2 separate regions of the Homo sapiens genome follow, and region 2 is linked to region 1. The links are contacts of gene promoters, found by promoter capture Hi-C in blood cells and fetal thymus (Javierre and others, 2016). All regions are on one chromosome and are shown on one strand. The core of a region is centred on a gene start or on the middle of the fragment in contact, and the rest is flanking DNA. Distances in the headings are between cores, read along the strand shown. Region 1 holds the start of TIMM10 (translocase of inner mitochondrial membrane 10). Region 2 has its middle 14 kb from the start of OR5B21.

Region 1 (3,813 bases), core at 905-3,404:
CAAAGATCTCTCTTGTGCTACCCTTTACAGGTACACTTCTATCTCCCCATCAACCCTAACACTAGACAATCAGAAATCTCTTCTCCATCTCTATAATTTTGTGATTTTGAGAATGTTACTTAAATGAAATCATACAGTATGCAACCTTTCATAAGGCCCAGTAGATATTGCAAGATTCCTCTTGTAAGAAACCATCTCCTTTTCCCACGCAGTTTCTTAACTTTCCATAATGTTTCTTTTTTGCGGGGAGTGGGGGGTCGGAGTTTCACTCTTGTTGCCCAGGCTGGAGTGCAATGGTGCGATCTTGGCTCACTGCAACCTCTGCCTCCCGGGTTCAAGTGTTTCTCCTGCCTTAGCCTCCTGCTTAGCCTCTTGAGTAGCTGGGATTACAAGCACCCGTCACCACACCGGGCTACTTTTTTGTATTTTTAGTAGAGATGGGGTTTCACCAAGTTGGCCAGGCTGGTCTCGAACTCCTGACCTCAGGTGATCCACCCACCTCAGCCTCCCAAAGTGCTGGGATTACAGGCGTGAGCCACTGCACCCGGCCAATGTTGACTATATTTTCAAAGGCAAAAACCAAGGCAAGATATGTCCATCTGTACAAGAGTATCATAGCAGCATTATTGCATAATAGGCAAAAACTGGAAACAATCCAAACATCCACCAACGGGAGAATGGATAGATGAATTGTGGCATACTCATACAATCAAACACTAGACAGCAATAAAACAGAAGGAATAACAGATGCACACAACAATATGGAGGAAATCTTACAGGTACATTGAGCTAAAGAAGTCAGGCACAAAATAGAAAATAATGTATAATTCCATTTACACGAAGTTCAAGAACAAGGAAAACTAATTGATGGTGATAGAGGTCAGAATAGTGGTTAACTTCGAGAGGGGGTATTGATGGGGAAGGAACACAAGATAACTTTTTGGGGTGCAGGAAGTATTTTATATCTTGATCTGGATGGCGGTTATACAAATGTACATATATAGATACATATATATTTAATTAAGCTTAACATTCGTGTATTTTATGCACTTTATGAATGTTATACCCCAATCTTTAAAAATCAGGGCACAAGTTTGGCAAAGATGAGTCTTCAAAGCAGTAGAAAGGTCAATTGTTTAAAATTAGGATGGTCTTGGACAATTAGGGAAGCTTATGATGACCACACAGAAAATGTCTAGCCCACCTTTTCCAATGGGCAATGTGCCCTTGCGTCATTAATTTACATCTTGTAAATTTATTTTACCAGGAAATTGTGTGACAAATCAAGGGACTGAGTATTGTTTCCTTGTTTCCTTCTTTTTAGTGGGGAATGAGTGAATGGTGCAGTTTGAAGAACACATTAAGTCTTGAAAGTTGGAAAGTTCACCAGTACCCTTCTTTCCCTCACCCAAGATTAGCCCTGGTGGCAGCCGAAATTGCTTTTATTATCTCTTTGTGGCTGAGGACCTCTAACTGTTGAAGAAAACATATTTTACACGTCTTGTCTTTCTGCGAACAGGAAGCCTATCTCGCTTATCTTTGCAACCCCAGACGGGGCTTAGTGTGACCTACACACAGCAGTAATCGCACAACGTCCCGTGGAGCACTGCTTCTCAAATTTGGCTGTACATACGAATCACCTGGGGAATTTTAAATTGTATTGCTGCCTGAGGAATTTTAAACTGTACTCCCAGAGATTCTGATTTAATTGAAATGAGGTGAGTCCTGGGCACTGGGATGTTTAAAAACGTTCCAGGTGATTTTAACGCGAAACAAAAACAGAACCGCTGTTTGGGGGCGTTCTTCCTTCTCCACGCCTGATTTGCGCACAGGAGTCGGCTGTCTGGAACGGGGGTGAGGTTCACAGGTGTCTGTCGCCACGCCTCTTCCTACAGAACCAATAAACTGAAGCCGCTCGGTGACATCCCAAAGGACTTGAATTCTGATCGGGCTGCAGACGCTCTGCACCCCGCCCAAGCTTCTATGGTACTTTGGTGTCCTCTCTAGCACTGGCAAGTCGCCTTCCTCTTCGCCCGGCGCCAGCCGCTCCCTCTCTATGATCGCCGAGTTCCCGGCGCCGTCTCGTTGGTATTTAATTCCGGAAGCGAGTTTGAATCAAAGAAGAGGCGGGACTTTCCTCCCGGAAGTAACCCACGTGCTTCCGCTGGAGCCTCTCGGGAGGCGGGTAACGTTATAGTATTTGTCAGAAGTTGGGGTCTCCGTGGGCATTGTGATCCGTCCCAGGCAGTGGTAAGTGACACATGACCTCTGAATTCAATGTGGCCCTGATGATGGCGTCGCCATTTCAGAGGTGTAGCCTTTGGGCTGGGTCCCGGTCGCCTCTGTTCAGCGTATGATCCCATTCCCAGGGCCCTGGAGGTTCAGGTTCGTGGGTTAGAGAGTTCTCCTCCGGTCCTCGATCTCCTGAATAGAGGTGACCTCCAGGAACTGGGGCATCAGAGATCCGGGGCTCGATTTCCAGGCTCGCCATAGACGTCCTGTGCGACCTTGGGCTAGGCCTCAGTTTCCACATCCGTGAAATGGGGTGGTTAAGCTCACTGAGGTTAGTGGCCCGTGGTGGTCTGGCGCCCTGTGAGTCCTCTGTATCCTCTAGCCCCAGGGGTAGGAGAGTGAACGGCGGCGGTGGGTGCTGATGGTGATGTCTGCTCCCAGGATTAGGAGGCCAGAAGGAGATCCCTTCCACGGTGCTAGGCTGAGATGGATCCTCTCAGGGCCCAACAGCTGGCTGCGGAGCTGGAGGTGGAGATGATGGCCGATATGTACAACAGGTAAAGAGAACTATGTGCTACCCTGTCTTGGAAAATAAGTCTTGGTCACCCTTATCGAAGGTGAATGACTTATGACAAATTCCTTCCTGAATGTAGGGGAGCCTGAGGCCCATGCTTACCCTCCCCACACCCACCTTCAAGGTTGATCCTAATGTAGATGCAGTAAAGGGTCACTAGAATGAGTTGGGCATTTAGATGGGGATGGAACTGGCAATGCAGGAGCCAAGCAGGAAGAGAAACTCCAATCCAGGCTCTGGTTAGGTTCCAAGAAAAGCTGAGTATTTGCCTCTTGACAAATAGCACATAGCCAGCCCATTTAGTAGTTAACATTTTAAAACCCTTTATTCTGTGTCAGGCACTTGTTAATCTTCAAAATAATCCAGTGGGTTAATTTTATTAGTCCCGTCTTAAAATGAGGAAATTGATGATTCTAGAGGTTAAGTAACTTCCTTAGGGTCGGCAGCTGGTCAGTAACAATGCCAGAACTAGCACCTCAGTCTGATTCTGCAACTAGTGCTCATAACCATTTGGCAAATTTGGGAACAAATCCTGGCTCCACCAATCACCAGCAGTATAATTGGACATGTTACTTGCACTGTTTGACAATTGGTTTCCTCATTATGAAGAAGACATAATGATACCTACCTCATAGGACATCATAAATATTAAATCTAAAAATATATGAAAGCCCTTAGCCTCAAGCCCAACACTTAGTGAAATGTCTGCTATTTTTATTGGCTTAAGCTCTCTTGATTGGTTGGTTTATCCTGAAGGCTATAAATTAGAAGGATTTTTAAGTGTAGACTGTGAGGTCAGATGACCTGGCTTCATAACCCAGCTCTGTGTGATCCTTAGAAAATTACTGAGCCTCTGTTTGCCTTAATTTCCTCATCTGTAAAATGGGGATACATGTCTCTTAGGGTTATTGTAAGCATTGCATAACAGAATGCAGGTAAAGCACTTAGCAGGATGCCTGGCATGTAGCCAGTCCTCAACAAATGGTTTCTACTTAGTTAGTCATATA
Region 2 (3,727 bases), core at 986-3,485, 990 kb before region 1:
ATGGAAATCTCTTGGGATCCACAGGATAAAAAAGAAAGAAATCTCAGGTAAAAGCTGGTGCTTGGGTTGTACTTGTTGCAAATTTATAACTTTGCCAGAAGGCAGTGTTGTCTCAAATTTATAAGAAAGGAGACAGTTTATGTAGGACATTCCCCTACCTTAGATATAGTCAGCGTATAGTGCCTAAATTGATTTTCCGTGGGGAGAAGTCTCCTAACTGTGTTTAGGTTCATAGACCATGGATTACGGACAATTGCATAAACTTCCTGGCACCCTGTTGAGAGCCATCCATCTTCCCTTCCTATTTTGGATATCATTAAATCACAATAAATACTGTATTATGGGAATAACATTTTTCCTGGGATAAGTACCTCCATTCTAGCGAGAGATATCTCAGATCACAGGTGTTACTGGAAAAACTCCTAAAGCTGAAAATGAACAGACCAAGGAATCAAAGAAGGCTTTACTTTCTCTAAACTTTAACTTAGAGAATTTGATTTTGGATTTTAATGTTTTTGGACTTTGATATGCTATGTTGAATAATATTATTGGATATAATTGAGGATGGGACGTGAAATGAAAGGGGAGTGAATTTCTGAGCTGTTTTTCCCCACAGTCTAGTTTCTCCACAAAGAACTGCATCTCCCATTCTTGGTCCATGTGTTTAGGCAAGGCTGACTTTAACCTCAGCCTCAGAAATAGGTACAGTCCCAGGTCTGACCAATAAAAGTACTTTGTTCTTCTGAAGGAAGGTGATTGGATCAGGGATAGACATGTGACCTCAGCAAAGCCAATGACCTTTACTAGATTTATTCAGAAAGAACATTCCCATTCGTTGGAATTCTAGTTGTGCGGATAATAAAAACCCATTGCTGCTGATAAATATTTTTATCATCACTTGGGGGAGGCTGTCTGAGAAAGAGGCCAGCACAGTGGAACGTAGAACCAAGTAATGGAGAGGCTGTGTTTTCTTTTTTTGAGCCACTCAGTTCTACCATAGCAGCATCTTAACCATAGACTAGGAAATTATGTGAGCAAATAAATTCTCTTTTTTGTTTACATTGAACAAATAAACTCAGTGTTGGTACAGAACGTATATTGTATATCGTCATGAAAAACTAATACACAAAAATAGTGTTTGATCACTTCTTGATGCTTTTTACACCAGAGCACAGTGAAACTCTGTAGTTTAAGGTTAAGTCATCCTGTGGATAGCTCGCATATTTAGAGTACAAGCTTCTTGCTCCTGTCCAATTTTGCAGTATCTGTCACTATTACAAAGGGGAAGAAAAAGGTTGTGAGGGTGTTGTCATCCTCTAAGATTTAAAATTGTTTTGGAAATGATGGTATTCATGCTACTTTGTTTAATTATAATCCAGAGAGAACTATTACGTATTTGATATTACTGCAATACTCTTTATAGTGAAAACTAGTTTTAAAACATCCTGATACCCCACTAGCAAACAAAAAAGGAAGAAAAATTAGACGATTATAAGAGAAATCAATTTACATTTATCCTGTGTCTTAGTCTGCGCAGTTGCCAAAACAAAATACCATAAATGGGGTGTCTTAAGCCACAGAAATTTATTTTCTCATAGATCTGGAGATGAGAAGTCTCAGATTAAGGTCTGCAGGTTTGAATTCTGTTGAGGGCTCTTTTCTTGGCTTGCATATAGCTGCCTTCTTGCTTTGTCCTCACAGGGTGAAAAGAGGGAGAGAGAGAGAGACCACAAGAGATCTGGTGTCTCTTCTTGTAAGGAAACCAATCTTATCAGATCAGGGCCCAACCCTTATGATTTCGTTTAATCTTAATTACTTCTTTACTTAAAATACAGCCACATTGGGGGTTAGGCCTTCAACATATTTTGGAACGACACATTCAGTCCATTACATCCTGAAAGGTGCTACTTAAAGAAAATTGGGTTTATATGAAGTTAAGGAGGAAAAAGAAGACATTTATAGTGATTCTGAGAGGGGACCTTAGGGACACTTTTCAATGCTTTGGAAGTTTGAAGTGGTTATTTTCATTATGTTCAATAACACTTAGAAAATAGGACTTTCTGTCTCTAGGTGCTCTTGCATTTTCAGACATGAGTTAGAAAATATTGGAGGCTCAAAAATAAAATGAAGAACTTGGAGATTTTCCTAAGATAATCTGAAAATTTTGAAATGGAGGAAAAGTAGGACGGAAGAAAGTTACAGGATATATAAGATAATTTTTGAGTTGGGCAAGGTGAAATTTTCAGAGCTTTCAGTAAAGGAGGCAAGATGGGCCGTATAACACACTATCTGAGGAAAAGAAAGACAGAGTGGGGGGAATTGTCACTCAGTTCCCTTACACAAACTACCTGGTGAAGCTACTACTTACCCTAGATTGTCTCACAATTTGGGGTTTTTCTAGAAGTGGATGCTGAGACTAGGACTTGTGTATAGTAGTCTATTTAGGAGGCAATCTCTAGATGTACAGCTAGAAGAGCCAAAAGTGAGATATTTTCTATATTCTACAGGGATTACGCCTGTAATCCCAGCACTTAGGGAGGCCGAGGTGGGCAGATCACGAGGTCAGGAGATCGAGACCATCTTGACCAACACAGTGAAACCCCGTCTCTACTAAAATACAAAAAATTAGCCGGGTGTGGTGGTGTGCAGCCTGTAGTCCCAGCTACTCAGGAGGCTGAGGCAGAGGAATCGCTTGAACCCGGGAGGAGGAGGTTGCAGTGAGCCAAGATAGCGCCACTGCACTCCAGCCTGGGCATCAGAGTGAGACTCCGTCTAAAAAAAAAAAAAACCCAAAAAAACAAACAAACAAAAAAGAAAAGGCAAGGAAGCCAAATCAGTGTGCATTAATGAGCAGATTACTGTCTTGGGAAGTTGGAACTCAATACTCAGAGGACCTCTGGGATTCATTGTAGAGTACAAGAGGTGGTCCACCAACCCTTACACCCCACTTTGTCTTCCTTGTACTCAAGCTGCATGTACTCTGAGGCCAAAGAAAGCCCTTTTTCTAAATCACAGGCACTTTGAGTAGGAGCAGCAGTGTGTACCTAGCAGTAAGTGCCAACAGATAGGGGTGGGGAACTAATGCCATTTGTTGGGTAAAGTTATCGAGGGGTAAGGTTAAAAGGAAGAAAATCATACCAAAGGACTTCACATTACCGGTAATCACAAGACCGAATTTGTGGTAAGCCATGCATTTGCAAAGTTTTATAATATTCCCAGCTCTATGAAGCTTAATGTATTTCATCTAAGGTAGTATTAGTAGAGGGGATGACAGAAGGGAGAAAGTGGGCAAGGATTATTATTTCCATTTACCTGTGGAAGAAGCAGTTGATTACATGAATAGGTCAAGGTGACTTGATTTAGAAACAGAACTAAAGTTTGTTAATTCCTTGTCTGGGATGCTTTCTTTTAGGCTGTATATCAACAATGTAAAGTGCCCATGAGGTGAATTTTCAAGGGACAAGCAAGGGCACTAGGGCATCAAAGTGATCTGCTCTAGGCTACACTGTTTTGGTTATAGTGGCAAGAATAGCAGCCATGGCTTCAGGCAAACCAAAATTTAAAAGTTGAGTTTACCACTTGCAAACTGTAAGTGAATTTACCGCTTGTAAACCTTGGTTAAACCACTTATCTTCTACAAATTTAGGTTTCATGATATGTTAAACATGGGTAATAATATCCACGTGGGTTTGTTGTGGGGATTAACTGAGATAATACGTGAGAAAGG

What was found. Contacts are between HindIII fragments. The CHiCAGO score rates a contact against its expected background, and 5 or more counts as called.
Region 2: a contact is called between a fragment that was not itself captured here and the fragment with the promoter of TIMM10 in region 1, in 13 of 17 cell types (total CD8 T cells, naive CD8 T cells, naive B cells and 10 more). The highest score is 27.2, in total CD8 T cells.

What each region holds. Positions count from the first base shown.
Region 1 is chr11:57,529,095-57,532,907 of GRCh38, reverse strand. It overlaps TIMM10 (translocase of inner mitochondrial membrane 10), which reads left to right and starts at 2,154. Exons shown (of 3, transcript NM_012456.3): 1 at 2,154-2,250; 2 at 2,674-2,789. The coding sequence starts at 2,719. RefSeq lists an enhancer at 1,975-2,154. The HindIII fragment of the contact is 3,024 bases long and covers 1,981-3,813 here.
Region 2 is chr11:58,520,313-58,524,039 of GRCh38, reverse strand. No RefSeq gene overlaps it. Among named protein-coding and RNA genes, the nearest start is that of OR5B21, 14 kb to the right of the region's middle. The HindIII fragment of the contact is 1,993 bases long and covers 1,239-3,231 here.